Regions from separate parts of the Homo sapiens genome. Here region 2 is linked to region 1. The links are contacts of gene promoters, found by promoter capture Hi-C in blood cells and fetal thymus (Javierre and others, 2016). All regions are on one chromosome and are shown on one strand. Each heading gives the region's core, a stretch centred on a gene start or on the middle of the fragment in contact. The rest is flanking DNA. Distances are from core to core; before and after follow the strand shown.

Region 1 (7,829 bases), core at 1,904-4,403:
AAACTTGGCAGGTAAACCAGGCTGTGGCCCTGCAGTGCCATCGCTGTCCTCACTTGAACTCTGGCTCCTCTGTTCCTCGATGGCCCCTCCACATGGTGCTCCACCCCAGTCTTCAGAAGCTTCTGCCCCAAGGCCAGGGAGCCTGGTATGGAGGTGCAAGTAGGAACAGGTGCAGCCTCTGCTGGGTGGAGGACATGTGCCCTGGGGATCCAGTCCGGAGTGACTGACACCAGCCCTGAGGATGTGGTTCATCCTCCCACACCTGCTAACACAGCCCTCTGAGGTTTACACAGGGCTGCTGAAGATTTTTATCTCCTCTTCACTTTACAGGCAGGAGCTGGGGCCACACCAGTGTCACAGAGCTGGAGGGGAAGCACAGCAGGGCCCAGCTGTTCCCAGCCTCCAATCTCAGGAGTCCTTGAGAGCCTCAGAGTCCGAGATTCTGGGCCGTTGGATCTTTTCGATTCCTACTTTGATAAAGAGAAGGGCGGGGCGGAAGCCTCTGTCACACAGATTGGAACAGTCCAACGCTGACAGAGCCAGGACCTGGGGTCAGGAACTGAGCTCAGCTCCAGGCTCATCTGATGTCCTCCTGACAGCCTGAAGATGGAGACCTTATCTCCATTTACAGGCGTGGCAGGTGGCAGGGACTGGCCCCAGCTGACCACGGTTCTCCAAGTTCACAGCTGGGAATTCAGTCTTCCCTGCCACCCTCCCCTGCTGTCTCATCTGGATCCCCCGGTCATCTACTCCCACTACCAAAACTCCCGTATCCTTGAAAATTCCTAATACCATTAAGGAATGAAAGTACATAACAATGTGATGAATCACCTTTTACTTCCTAGACTAGCAACGAATGAAAGCTAAGTGTAACAAGGGTGTAGGGATACAGGCACATGTGTGAACTAGGTGTGAGTGTAAGCTGAGTTCAATGGTCTTTTGGAAGAAAATTCGTAAACATCTAAAGAAACTTCTGAAATGATTTATCCCACGGAAGTAGAAGTAAAATTCTACTTCTAAGGAGTTGCCCAATAAGCTGGTGCGCATGGACATGTGGACACACGATACATACAAGGGTATTTAGTACAATGCTGTTGGAATTAGCAAAGGCAAATTTGCTTTGGGTTATATCCCATCGGGATGGGATATAACCAGCTGCCTCTAGATGGCAACAGTGAATTAACCTGTGGCTTACCCATGTAGTAAAATACAATACCCTTGTTTAAAAGAAAATCAATCTGAATGTACTGCCATAAAACATCTAATGTGATTTGTGCTAGCTCCAAAATTTTAAAAAGCAACTGTGCATTGAAATGCATTTAATAAGGCAAGATTGATGGAGGGATCAAAGCCTCCTTTGGGACGCATAGAGTTCACATTCCCAAAACTGTGAAATTCAGGTTGCTGGTCTTGTCTACACAGGTCATCCACACATTCTCTCTTCAGGGCCACTGTCCTGACACAGCCATTCTTCTAGCTGCCTCAGGTAGGTCCACCCACTATAAACTATTGTAGAAGTCAGTTGTGTAATTTTTGAGAGGTGAAAATGTCACTGCTGTTCTGAATTTAGTATTACTTCGTTGAAAGAAAACATGGAGACTCTCATGGTTCATGTAATCTTGTTTTATCCTCCCCGTTTTGTTTTTTGGTATTACGTAAGAAACCTTAGAAAGCACTGTTGGCAGAAACGTCAGTCACTCAGAAAAAGTCCTGGCAGTCTGCACATCTTATTTTTATGTCCTTCTTGTGCACCCCACTACCAATCTCAGTTTCCAAACCCAACTCACAACGAGAACTTTACATCTTTTATGCCTAAGGAAGGGGCCATCCCGCGGTCCTGCCTATGGGATACAGAGGGGACACACGGGTGGCAGTGGAAGACACTGACTGCAAGCACCTTGGTTAACCGCTTCCTGCCACTTTCAGGGTTCTATAGGAAATGAAAGTTACAAAAAACAGCGTTGGAAAGCTTTTTCACAGGCTGTTTGTTAAACTGATCTCCAAGAAACACGTGTAACAGTGTAAACATAGGGTTAATTTTGTTTGTTTGTTTGTCTGTTTTTGTTAAGGCAGAGTCTCGCTCTGTCGCCCAGGCTGGAGTGCAGTGGTGCAATCTCGGCTCACTGCAACCTCTGCCTCCCGGGTTCAAGCAGTTCTCCTGCCTCAGCCTCCTGAGTAGCTGGGACTACAGGCGCAGGCTGCCACGCCTGGCTAACTTTTTTTTTTTTTTTTTTTTTTTTTTTGAGACGGAGTCTCGCTCTTGTTGACCAGGCTGGAGTGCGATGGCGCGATCTCGGCTCACTGCAACCTCCGCCTCCCGGATTCAAGTGATTCTCCTTCTGCCTCAGCCTCCCGAGTAGCTGGGATTACAGGCGACCGCCATCACGTCCGGCTAATTTTTGTATTTTTAGTAGAGACGGGGTTTCACCATGGTGGCTAGGCTGGTCTCCAACTCCTGACCTCAGGTGATCCGCCCGCCTCGGCCTCCCAACGTGCTGGGATTACAGGCGTGAGCCACCGCGACCGGCCTGGGTTAACGTTATGAACGAACGAACGAACGAACGAACGAAAGAGGCAACCGCTCTGTGGCTTCCTGAGGTTCACTCCGGGGTTTCCATCTTGACTCCCTCCCTCCGCTGATTCTGGAACTTCCTCTGGGGCAGCTCAGTGCGGTCCTCGCCGCACGGGACAGCCAGGGGGAGCGCGCGCTCTGCTCCCTCGCGGCCCGGTCGCTCCTGCCCAGCCCGGGCACCCCACTCTTCCCCTGACTCCGACGGCGGGTTCGTCCTGCCCAGACATGCCCGGCCGCAGGCGACCCGGGCCAAGCATCCCCACCGTGTCCCCCTCTCTCCCTGCCCACTCCCGGCGCCAGGTGCGCTCTTCCCCAGCCAGGGACCGCGGCGGAGACTCACCGGCAGCAGAACCGCGACGATGAAGACGACGAACTTAAGGATCTTGGGGTCCAGGAGCCATGGTCTGGTTCCCGACGCTGTCCTGGCTCCTGGATAGCGCCCTGCTCGAGCGCTCGAGGCGGTCGGGACGCTTTGTCCCCAAAGTCCCATGAGAAGGGAGGAGGGTGGATCGAAAGCGCCAAAAATCAATCAGAAATCGTCCCCGTAGTTTGTGCGCGTGCAAAGGTTCTCGCAGCTACACTGCCAGAATAGAACGTGCTCCTCCGCTTTTATACCCCGGAAAAAAGGCGTGGTCAGTTGTACTCCCTTCCCGCAGTCACTTCCAGGCACTCAGGCTGGGTCTCCCCCAGCACCTCCAGGAGGGCCCAGGTTGTGTGGGTGGGTGCATGGACGGACAGGAACTGGCTCTTTCCGGCAGCGGTGACCCAGGGCCTGCGGTTTGATTCCGGGTCCTGTCCAGGCTGTAGGCAGCAGAAGGGGAAGGAGCTGAGGCGCTGCCCGCTGCGCTGCTGTAGTCTGGGTAGTGAGCTCCAGAGGAGGCACTGGAGGCCCATCCTGAGCCTGCTCCCTCCCCGGGCCGCCTGTCTCTCCTCTTCTTAAACCCTGAACTACTTCCTGGCCTCAGGACTTCAGTCCACTCTTAGCTTCTGCTCCCACTCCCTCCTCCCACAGCGGCCTCACTGACCAGTGCACTGATGCCACTGATGTCTCCAGCCTCCTTGCTGCTGTGACCCAGCTCCAAGCTTCTCTGGCAGGGGCTTGGTATCCCTCAGTAGCGGGTGCCTGGCACCAAGGAGGGGCCCAGTGAACACATGAGTGGACAGAATGAAGGACACAGAGGCCATGACAGGCACCTGCAGAGGCTGAGGAGTAGGTAGGAGGGAGAGGAACGCCGGGGGCATCCCTAGCCACAACCTGGCACCCTTTGCATGGTCAAAGCACAAACACTCCCTGACCAACCTTGAGGGCTCTAGTATTGAGGCCCCATGGAGACAGGGGAATCAGGGGAGTGCCTTCCAAAGTCTGTCCCCAAGTCTATTGTCTACCCAGGTCCAACTGTCTGACCTTGGGCTACTTACCTCCCCATCCAGTTGAACACACTGCCGCTGTGAGGGCAGACCCAATGTGTGGTTTTGAAGGGTGCCAGCTTGTGACCCTAAGCAGTAAGGTCAATGGCAGGACTCCTAGACCCTTGGGATGAGTCGGCTCCTGACCCCTCACATGGTAGATAGAAGAGGATAGCGCTATAGAAATGAAGGTTTTTTGGCTCATGAGAAACCTGGGAATGAAATGTCATCCTCTCCACAGGCTTGGATTTGAGCGATGGATCACCCTGAGCACCTTCCAGGGCCCAGACAATGACCTAGGGTCAGAAATGTGAGCCAGGGCCGGGCGCGGTTGCTCACGCTTGTAGTCCCAGCACTTTGAGAGGCTGAGGTGGGCGAATCAAGAGGTCAGGAGTTCGAGACCAGCCTGGCCAACATAGTTAAACCCCATCTCTACTAAAAATACAAAAATTAGCTGGGCGTGGTGGCGGGCACTTGTAATCCCAGCTACTCAGGAAGCTGAGGCAGGAGAATTGCTTGAACCCAGGAAATGGAGGTTGCAGTGAGCCGAGATTCGTGCCACTGCACTCCAGTCTGGGTGACAGAGCGAGACTCTGTGAAAAAAAAAAAAAAGAAAAAAAAATGTGTGCCAGGTCCCAGGCACTGAGCTAGGGTCAGAAATGTGCGCCAGGTTTCAGGCACTGAGCTAGACTCAGAAATGTGTGTCAGGCCCCAGGCACTGAGCTAGGGTCAGAAATGTGTGTCAGGCCCCAGGCACTGAGCTAGGGTCAGAAATGTGCGCCAGGTTCCAGGCACTGAGCTAGGGTCAGAAATGTGTGCCAGGTTCCAGGCACTGAGCTAGACTCAGAAATGTGTGTCAGGCCCCAGGCACTGAGCTAGGGTCAGAAATGTGTGTCAGGCCCCAGGCACTGAGCTAGGGTCGGAAATGTGTGCCAGGCCCCAGACACTGAGCTAGGGTCAGAAATGTGTGCCAGGACCCAGGCAATGAGAAATGTGTGGGGTCAGGAATGTGTGCGGGGTGCAGATCCAGGCAGGAGGTGAAAGGTCAGGGACTTCAGGAAGACTGACAGCATTAACACAGAGCCACCAGGGCCTGCAGGAAAGTCCTTAGAGCACCTTAGCTCCCTTGGCCCTGGAGGGTGGACCACACAGTATAGACCAGAAACCAGACTGCAGGTAACAACGCATTCTCTGTGCCCTGTGTGGAGCACTGACTAGGGCTAATGGCAAAAGGCTGTGAGCACCTCCAAGGAACTGGGCCTTTAGAGTCAAGTTTCCACTTAAGAGGCACTTACTAGCTTGAGATGGAACACTAACTGAAGTCTCCCCTGTCACTGAAGGACATAAAATAATCTTGAAACCTGAAAAACTGATGATGTCTTCAGGAATCTTGGAAAAGCTCTAACGGGGAGGCCAGTCCCAGAAGAGTTCTATTACAAAATGGATTTTTTTTTTTTGAGATGGAGTCTCACTCTGTTGCCAGGTTGGAGTGCAGCACGATCCAGGCTCACTGCAACCTCTGCCTCCTGGGTTCAAGCGATTCTCCTGCCTCAGCCTCCCGAGTAGGTGGGATTACAGGCACATGCCACCACGCCTGGCTAATTTTTGAATTTTCAGTAGAGACGAGGGATCTTCATGTTGGCCCGGATGGTCTCGATCTCTTGACCTCGTGATCCACCCGCCTCAGCCTCCCAAAGTGCTGGGATTACAGGCGTGAGCCACCTCACTCAGCCTAAAAAATGGAAATGGTTGATATGGGATCCTGGTGCCTGAGGAAGGCAAAGAGGAGACACTCATGAGCAGGGAGCCTCTGTTCCCCTCAGACTGAGTCTGGAACTGGGTGAGGAGCTGCTGGATTCTGTGGTCACTTGGACATTGCCCTATACACAGCTCTTTACTTACTGACCAAGAGCTACTTAGTTTGTAGACAGTCATTCCTAGATGAATGGACAACATCCTACTTGGAAGGCCACCCCTCTGATGGAAGAAGGCAAAGGCAAATTGGCTAGGTGGGTTGGATTGCATGCTATTTTCCTAGCCTTATGGAAGATTTGAACAGCAGCAAAAGCCCCTGTACTTGAGTTTTTTTCTGGCTCATGGACAGTCGTCAATGTCCCGGTCATAGAGTTGGGAAGGAGAATGTGAAAGTTGATCGCACAAATTGGGTCATTCTTGTCACACCCAACTAAAACAGAGTCAAGAGGCCATGGGGAAGAAAAATCACTGTATTACCCCCAAACTGCAATTCTCTGTAAGTCTGGCAGCTGTAACGTGAAACTATTAATAGTTCTGTCTTATATCTATTGACACAACCAGCTGCTGCTCTAAGACCAGCCTGACCCACTGCAGTCACTCACCAGTCAGAGCATGCCACTTCTTCAAATTTTACAGCGCCAATGAACTTTCTGCAAAAAAAAATACTTAGTATTTCTCATTTAAAAAAAAACATCTGGCCGTGTGCGGTGGCTCACACCTGTAATCCCAGCACTTTGGGAGGCCGAGGCAGGCGGATCACGAGGTCAGGAGATCGAGACCATCCTGGCAAACACTGTGAAACCCGGTCTCTACTAAAAATACAAAATAATTAGCCGGGCGTGGTGGCGGGCACCTGTAGTCCCAGCTACTCGGGAGGCTGAGGCAGGAGCATGGCATGAACCCAGGGGGCGGAGCTTGCAGTGAGCGGAGATCACGCCACTGCACTCCAGCCTGGGCAACGGAGCCAGACTCCGTCTCAAAAAAAAAAAAAAACTTCCAAACTTCTCTTTGTTCTTTGGACGTACCAAAGACAACTTGGTCTTTGTGTATGCCAAGAATTGCAATTCTTACTTTCCAAATAAAGGGTATTAAATTTGGATATTCGTCTCTACATTTTCCATTGTTTCCAAGAGTAAGGGGAAACTGACCTAGTGTAGGGATGTCCATATGAGGCCCGACCCTATGGAAATCTCTAGGGGAGCTTGAGGAGTGCATTAAAGTAAGACACGCCCATGCTGGTCAGTAGAACCCACCCTCAGGTTTAGAAAGTGACTGTAATCAGCAAGAGATACCCCCGTGTACTCCCTTGAGGTGGTCACCAGAGGCCACGAAGCAAAAGAAGTGGATATGGGGGAACCACAGTGACGCAGAGATGGGCTGAATCGAAACACATTCCTCTTGCTCTCTCTCAGGCACATGACACCAATAAGAGCTGTTCTGTCTAGCAGCGGGAGAGACAGAGACTGCCTATAGCTATGAGGCAGATTCCCTGATGAGGAGGCCCTCAACATACTTGGAAAGTGAGACTGAGGGCAGTGCCCTGGGGGGTACAGGTGAGTCTCGACAGCAACAGAAACTGACTGTGGATTGTCTTTTCCTTACCTGGTGGAGGCTGCAAATGCCCAGAGTGCTATTAATATAAAAGAACTGAAAGAAGGTATTATTCTAGTTTGGACCACTAAACCGAACTTCCTTGGACCGAGAAACAGGCTGTTCAGTGCATAATGTTTAGCAATGGGCAGAGAGATATCCTCCTTAGAGTAATAATTTGATAGGGAAGCGGAACAGTCAACTGAAACATTGATTGTCTAAAATGGGGGGAGACACAGGCATGAAGGGCTGGCTTCCACACCTTCACTGGTGTGTGCCCCTACTCCACACGAGTGGGCTAAAGGAGTGTCCCCACCAGACTTTCCTCCATTTTTCCAGTGGATCTGGGGATGAGGGGGTGGGGAGGATGCTAGTATAATGACTGTCATTTTGTTGTTGTTGTTGGGTTTTTTTGAGACACAGTCTCACTCTGTCACCCAGGCTGTAGTGCAATGGCATGATCTCGGCTCACTGCAACCTCCGCCTCCCAGGTTCAAGTGATGCC
Region 2 (7,829 bases), core at 872-3,371, 170 kb after region 1:
CCAGGCAGAAGTGCAGTGGTGCAATCACTGCAACCTCTGCCTCCCAGATTCAAGCAATTCTGCAGCCTCAGCCTCCTGAGTAGCTGGGACTACAGGTACCTGCCACCACGCCCAGCTAATTTTTGTATTTTTAGTAGAGACGGGGTTTCGCCATGTTGGCCAGGATGGTCTCAAACTCCTGATCTCAAATGATCTGCCTGCCTCGGCCTCCCAAAGTGCTGGGATTATAGGCATGGGCCACTGTGCCCAGCCTGTTGTCATTCTTTAGCTTTATTTTTCTTTGTCAATGAGCAGTACAAGCTGATTGCTAAACTCTCCCAACGATATACAAGATTAAATTTGTATTTCCAATGAGAAACAATGAAAACAGTCTTAAATTACTCCATCTGCTGAATCAAAGTACAATCTGCCTAGCAATAGAAATTATAATGGTAATGCAACTACTGCTTCCTGCACCCAGGAAGATCAGTGAGGTTGAGCTTGTCTCTGTACCATATCCTAAGGAAGCCCTTAGCCTGTATTGTTAACATGTGCAAAGTGTTCCTTTGTATGTTTTTTTTTAAAGGCAGAATATAGATGCAGGTAATTCAGTTTTTTTTTTTCTAAAACAGTAACCAACTGATAAGTAATAGATTGGCTACCAAAAAGGATACTGTACCTCAGTTTCTCATGTCCAAAATCAGAAGTAGTATCTGCTTCACTAGATTATTGTGACAGTTTATTTATTTGTTGTTGTTTTTTTTTTTTTGAGATGGAGTCTCACTCTGTTGCCCAGGCTGGAGTGCTTTGGCGCGATCTTAACTCACTGCAACCTCCACCTCCCAGGTTCAAGGAATTCTCCTGCTTCAGCCTCCCGTGTAGCTGGGATTACAGGTACCTGCCACCACATCCGGCTAATTTTGTATTTTTAGTAGAGACAGTGTTTCACCGTGTTGCCAGGCTGCTCTCGAACTCCTGACCTCAGGTAATCTGCCTCCCTCGGCCTCCCAAAGCGTTGGGATTACAGGGATGAGCTATCACGCCAGACCATAAATCTGTATTTGGAGGTAGTATCCAAATTTATGCCAAGTCATATCATTGTAAGGAGGCCGTGGCAGGAGACCCCCTCACCCCATCTGGGTTCCCATGACTCTGGCCCTTTAAGAAGAGGCTAGAACTCTGGAGAAGTTGAGGTCTCCTGGGACCAGGGTGGTCTCGAAGTCCTGACCTCTGGTGATCTGGCCACCTCTGCCTCCCAAAGTGCTGGGATTATAGGCATGCGTCAGTGCCTGGCCTGTTGTGACAGTTTAAATGAGTTAATACTTGTCACTTAAAACAGTGCCCAGAGATAGGAAGAGCTACATAAGAGTTTGTGAAATAAATAAGTAAATAAATAAAACTGTATTTGTTAAAGAAAAAAAAAGAAGAGTGACAGGAGGGAGGGATTCCATGGTTGGAGTGATGGGAGACTTTACGGAAGAGAAGCCTTTAAATTGGGCCCTGAATGATGGTGGGATCTGAAACAAAGGAGGTCCAGGAAGGCCCTGCTACCTGCTCATGTCGACCCAGCTTTTCAGGGCCCGTGTGCTTGTCCCTGCACGGCAGGACCCAGTAAGATGCCAGAAGGAGCCAGCAGAGGGTACTCGCTGGGCAGGCTGACCCCAAGACAGGGCAGAGGCGAGGTCCCATCCCTGCTGGTCCAGCAGCCCTGGAAGTACCTCCTTTGTCTCAGAGTGAATGGGGTGTGAAGACAGAGGAAGGGCAAATCCTACAGACACAGTTATCATCTCTCCTTAACCCAAATCTGAGACTTGTTACAATTCTAGTGTGCTTGTGAACACAATGACACGGAATCTTGCTGAGGACTATCCTGGCAAATTCAGGGTGCGTGCTCACCACAGCGGCAGCCCAGGGCAGAGAACTGCTCAGGAGGGCTATTAATAATTCCAGGAACCACTGCCCTCCAGACACACTTCCTGCAAGGCCCCTGCACTTGGAAGCTTACAGCATGTTCCATGACGCCCACACAGGGGCGGGAGAAGATACTCGGGGGAACACCAGCTGCTCGAGGATTGGTCAGACCTCACCGCCTGCCTTGGCTCAGGAAAACCCCTCTGCTTCCAGCCGTCAGTGAGCGCCACCCTCTCCAGGAACAGATGTCCTGCGTTCTAAATGAAGAGTGCAGAGCCCACAGCAAACAACTGTCCCCAGCAGCCCGGATCCCTCTGACATCAGCCCCCAGGAATGTGCTGCAGACCCTCTAGCACGTTCAGGCCTCCCAGGGGATACCCTCCCCTCCCCTCCTCCATCCCAGTGTTTCACTGGGGACAGGCCTCTGAGCTGCAGACGGAGGCCCACGGAGGGTGGAAGACAGCCCACCCCGCTCCAGACCTGGAGACTGGAGGAGTGACTGGAGTGAGTGAGGCAGCCTTGAGTGGAGTGGAGCGGGAAGCCTGCCTGTGAAAGAGGCAGCTAGGCCAATAGCTGGACTGTAGGAAGAACACGGAGCTGGACTGATTCAACCAAGAGTCCTACCGACCGGTGCTCCCCTTGCCAAGAGTGAAGGCAGATGCCGTGGGATTCTGCCAGCTGCTGAGTACATCTATTTCCATGATGCTTTCCGGAAGTGGGGAAATAGCACAGAATGGGTTTCAGATGGACGTAAGCTAAAAACCCATAAGCCCCCACTTTGATGTTCTGGGTCTCCTAGAATTACTGTCAGCTCAGAACCAGTGGCCAGTAGTCCAAAAGATCTGATTATTTCCTTTTCTCCAATGCACGCTCATCCTGGTGAAAGGTGTCTTTGGAGAACTGGGAGAAAGAATACAGTATAGATTTCTGGCAGGCTACGAGGGTGCTTCCTTGAGGGTACCCAGCCTTTCCCTCATTCAAGAGCTTCCAGTCTGATAAAACTGGCTCAAGTACGGGAATGGATTGAGGGGTCATGACTCTACTCTGCTTTTATGATTTGGGATAGACTTTTGTTTGCTTGACCTAGAAGTTTTCTGCTTATACAGATTAAGTACGAACTTAGTAGGCTTCCTGTCTATTTCACTTCGAGGAACATCATGATCAACCAGCCAACACCACAGGTCTGCAGCAGTCAGACTGATTTCTGCTTTGACTCCACTGTCCAATAGGGTCAGCACGTCCACCTTGCCTTTGGTAGTACTACAGCCACGGGGCCCCCGCCACCCTGGAGCCAATTACTCCGGTCGCATTCAGGTTACTGGTTCAGTGGCTGCTGTTCCTGCTGTGAGGTCTGGCCTTCAGAGAAGAGTGATCACAGCTCCTCAAGGAGGCTGGAGCTCCTTTCATATATTTACTTCTCACCATCAAGGTGAAAGGCATGTCTTCAGGAGCTTCCCAGCGTGGGTGAGGAGGTCTTAAAGGTAAGATCCACTCTAACATCCAACCTCCCTAAGCTTTTGAATTCTGTCCTCTACACACAACAGAGGCAGGGTCAGCATTTCTACTCACTCACTGTGGGCCACACTTTGGTCCACATTTCAGCCAACCAACCAGGCAAACCGCTGGAGGCCTTTCTAACTTCCTCAGCTGCAACATTAAATGCAGAATCTCTGCTTAGAGAGCTCATTTCAATTAAATGATGTCAGTATTGGGATCCTACTTTTGGGAGAACAAAATTATGACTACAAAATGCTCCCTCTTGGCACCAGGAATGGGGGCCTGAAGTTTAAGCTTCATTAGCTTTAAGGTACATGCATTGCACCCCAGCCCGGTGTGGAAGTCAGTGCCACGGCCACACCAATCAGAGAGCAGGCCTTGGTGAGGAGCCCCTGACTCTACTTTTGGCAAGCCTGTGGCTGCAGAGACCTCTGGGGTATGTGCAGGTAACTGGAGGGTATTAGTCCATTCTCATGCTGCTAATAAAGACATACCCGAGCCTGGGTAATTTATAAAGGAAAGAGGTTCAATAAGCTCAACAGTTTCACGTGACTGGGGAAGCCTCACCATCATGGCAGAAGGTGAAGGAGGAACAAAGGCACGTCTTACATGACAGCAGGCAAGAGAGCGTGTGCAGGGGAACTGGCCTTTATAAAACCATCAGGTCTCATGAGACTTATTCACTATCATGAGAACAGCATGGGAAAAACCCACACCCATGATTCAGTTACCTCCCACTGGGTCCCTCCCACGACATGTGGGGTTATGGGAGCCACAATTCAAGATGAGATTTGGGTGGGGACACAGCCAAACCGTATCACTAGGGGAAGCAGAGGTGCTGAGGAAGAGCTGCAGTTGGTGGCCAGGGGGCAGCTCTCAGGCTTCCGAGTGGCCACCAGCCCAGCAGGTTCACAGAGGGAGCCAGTCCAGTAAGGCAGCAGCGGGGTGGGGGGGCCCAAGGTGGGGGGCCCTCGGGGGTTAAGCAGGTGAGCTTCCGAGGCTATAAGGTCCTTCACGGGCCTTGGTGGATACATGGAGATTACTAACTCCACCCCAGACTGGGAATTACTTTGAAAATAATTTCCTGCAGAGTGGGCAGTGCTGCATGGCGGGAGGGAAGGGGGTCCCTTCTTGGGCCTCAGAGGTGTGCTGCCAGCAACAGCAGCCACAGGCTGTAGGAAGAGGGAAAGGGACATGGGAAAGATGCAACTGCAAGCCACTGCTTCAAGGGCCGGGCAGGGTGGTGGTCCTCAGTCTGCCTTCCAGACCTCTGCAGTCCTCAGCTTCTGAGCAGCGCCCATGGATATCCCTAGTCCCAGGCCAGTCCTGCCACAACCCTCAGACTGGCCAGAGCTTCTGAGCTGGCCCTACCCCCGGGAGAAGAGGAGCTGCAGCAGGGCCAGCAGGTGGAGACTGCTGGGTGGTGCTCTCCCTGAAGCAGACCTGGGCTGTCCTGCAGGCTCTGCTGGGTGTGGGCTGTGACACCCTGAGTCCACTGCCCTTCAGGCCTCTTCCATGTTCTCTTCCAGGCAGACCCAGGGCTTAGGCCAGTGGTCTCTGAGCCTTATCATTCCCTAGGAGTCCTAGCCCTTTGCTGGCAGCTCAGCCCCGACAGCCCACCGAGGCACAGAAAGCCTTCCCAGCACCTTTCTCTTTGGGACACATGTAGGCCTAACTGTCAACTGAGTCCCAGAGACGAACACAAAATGACAGGGCCAAGCTGAGAAGGTCGTGCTTCCCTTCCCACTCCTCTGCTAGGAAGGCAGCCCCACCTCTCCAGCTAGAAGGCTGCAGGAGGGGCTGGTTTCCAGCAGCTTCTGTTCTTCATCACCCATCCTGCAGACAGCACCACCCACCACCCCCTCCTTGGATCGCTCTCAGCCTTGGAAGCCTTATCCTCCCCGTCCTTGAAAAGGCAAAGCCACAGACGAGAGGGTGGGAGGGGCAGGATGGGGGTTCCAATCCAGCACGTGACAGGATTACCCAGGGCCCAGCTGCCGAAACTGGCCTGAGATCAACTCCTCAAAAGCCGAGAAGGACTCTGGACTGGCCACGGTTGGGAGATGGCTTCCAAACGCCATCTGAACAAGGCGCGTGCTGTCCAGCTTAGAACAGCAGCCAGGCTGGGGGCACTGGTAGGGCCAGCCAGGTAGGAAGCCTGCCAGGGAGGGGGTTTGCTTTTCTTGGCTCCGACTGGTAAGAAAAGCTGAGAAGGTATCACCAAGGAAGGAGTCGGGTGGGAGTTCTCCAAAGTATTCAGAGGACGGCGACTCCTGGTGCCAACAGGAAGGTCTGGGCCATGTCTGGGGACTGGAATCACCATCATGGCCAGCCTGGGGTGTTGTGTGCTCACCCAAATGGGCAGCTCTGCAGCTGCACTGACCCACCCATGTGAGGGGCTGGGGGCTGGGACAAAATTATGGCCCACCCCGTCCAGGCAGGGCTGGGCCAGGATCAGGGAGGGATATGTGGTCTGCCCGGCACCCCAGGGAGCTGGTGGGTACAGCTGGGGCTTCAAGCCAGGTCTCCTGACATGGAAGCCACATCTTTTCTTCCTCTGATTTGGAAGGAAAGAGACAGTGCTGTGAGTCTGCACCCTCTAAGAGTGTGGACCCTATAGCTGGACACAGGGGACCTCCAGAGGCCAGGGTGTGCGTGAGGCCTGGATCTGCCCCTTCCTGGTTCTATCACCTTTCTCCAGTTTACTCAACTCTAAAACAGACTCCTATTTCCCAGTGGTGGTGCGAGGATTAAATGACTGAGAATAGTGCCTGGCACATTATAAGTCTTTGGTAAAGCCAAGCCAGTATTCCTATCATTATTAAGAGGAGGGAGGAACACCCCATGACCAACCAAGTATACCCCAAGTATACGCCAGCCATCAGCTTGTTGGGGTGCTGGAATCCTTCCACTGGACACCCCTTAAGTCAAAATGACTCCAGGTTCTGTCCCTGTCTACTTCTTTCCCCTACTGGGAAATATTAACCTTAGCGATCATCACAGTATTGTCAGATTTAACTGGGATTGGATGAAGTGAACTGCACGGACCAGTGTCTCAATTACCTGCTGCAACTTCCAGATTTCTCAGAAGAATCATTTGCCAAGAGCAAGTAAATATTTCTTCTTAAGTTGGTGTTGTCTGTGCCCAGCCTGGCCAGGGTATTGCCCTAGCCTAGCTCGTGCAGTCCCTGAGCTGGCCGGCAGCACCCTGAGCTGGGGTTCTCTGGGCTGGGGGCAGCTTGCATCTCACTTCTGCAATACGCCTTCCCACAAGCTACTCTAGGGATTAGGGTCTATCTCCTGTAGATGTGTGAGTTCCTTAAGGGTAAGGATGCCACGGGGCACCCTTGAACTTGGCGCCTGGCCCGGCCCAGGGGCTCTGTGCAGGCTGCCTGCAGGGACACCAGCTTGCCTGGCCATGCCTGGCCAAGGAAAGGCCACCACCAGGGCGGACACTTTTAACTCTTTTAGGCAGGGCGGATACCCTCAAAGCCACCCCTTTGGTGCAGTCCTCTTACTTGTACACTTTGGTATTGTATGTCCTCTCCCCAGGGAAGCCAAACATGCCGCAGACCACGCGGGAATTCTTGGCCGTCCAGTGCTTGTCACAGATCTGCTTCCAGGTCTTGCCCTCCTTCACCTCCACGTAGCCCTCCATCACTGGGGTGCGCTTGCGGTAGGTTGAGAGGATGGCTCGAATCCGAATGTCCTCCACCTGGATATTCAGGTTCTGGGAAGAAAGAGGCGTGGAAGGAGAGGGTTACCCTACTGGCCTGGCTGCAGAGACACCAGGCAACCAGTACTTCTTTAGCGACTATGGGCCAGGCCTGCCGCGGGCCTGCCTGTGCCCTCAGGCCCTGCAGTGAGCTCTGGGCAACCCCGAGGGGCACACGGCCCAAGCTGCAGTTAGAAAGCGCTATGCATGGGAGATAGTGAGGCTGAAAGGACCCAACAGGGAGTGGGGTGACCTGGAACAGTCAGAAAAGACTCAGAGACCCCATGGGCTTCTCCTACATCCGAACCTAAGATCTTGGAGAGCAAAGGGCAGCAGCCTCCTCCTGCACAGGCCTCGAAATAAATGCACAGGAGAGAAAGTGTTCTTTGAATGCGGATTTTGCATTTCACTCCAAAGTATGTGTGTATGTGCCTGTGAGTGTGTCTGTGTGTGTCTCCCTGATTCATCTTTCAGTAAAACTTGAGTTTCAGATAGAGGACCCCCAGATGTCCTGAAGCTGGTGGTGCCACCCTGCAGACTACCTCATACCCCAGGGGTGGGCATTCCTCTCTTCAAAAATCCTTAGAGAGGCCTGAGAGAAGAAGCAGGGCTTAGAGAGAAACGAAGCAGATATTCCTGGTGTTGAGCGTGCTGTGTGCAGAGACTCACACCTGCCTGGCAGGGATCAGGGAGGTAGGGTTGGGGACAACTATTTGGCTGCAGCAAG

The links. The method cuts DNA at HindIII sites, captures the fragments that hold promoters and counts their contacts. A CHiCAGO score of 5 or more calls a contact.
Region 2: the fragment with the promoter of LOXL2-AS1 here is called in contact with the fragment with the promoter of TNFRSF10D in region 1 in 2 of 17 cell types (M0 macrophages and M1 macrophages); the score reaches 5.5 in M0 macrophages.

Annotation. Positions count from the first base shown.
Region 1 is chr8:23,160,874-23,168,702 of GRCh38, forward strand. TNFRSF10D (TNF receptor superfamily member 10d) reads right to left here and starts at 3,154. Exons shown (of 9, transcript NM_003840.5): 1 at 2,913-3,154. The coding sequence starts at 3,062. RefSeq lists an enhancer at 2,892-3,011 and a silencer at 7,600-7,780. The HindIII fragment of the contact is 1,686 bases long and covers 1,968-3,653 here.
Region 2 is chr8:23,334,087-23,341,915 of GRCh38, forward strand. LOXL2-AS1 (LOXL2 antisense RNA 1) reads left to right here and starts at 2,122. Exons shown (of 3, transcript NR_038323.1): 1 at 2,122-3,371; 2 at 6,940-7,063. LOXL2 (lysyl oxidase like 2) reads right to left here. Exons shown (of 14, transcript NM_002318.3): 4 at 6,906-7,117. RefSeq lists enhancers at 1,917-2,166, 4,231-4,731. The HindIII fragment of the contact is 1,425 bases long and covers 1,978-3,402 here.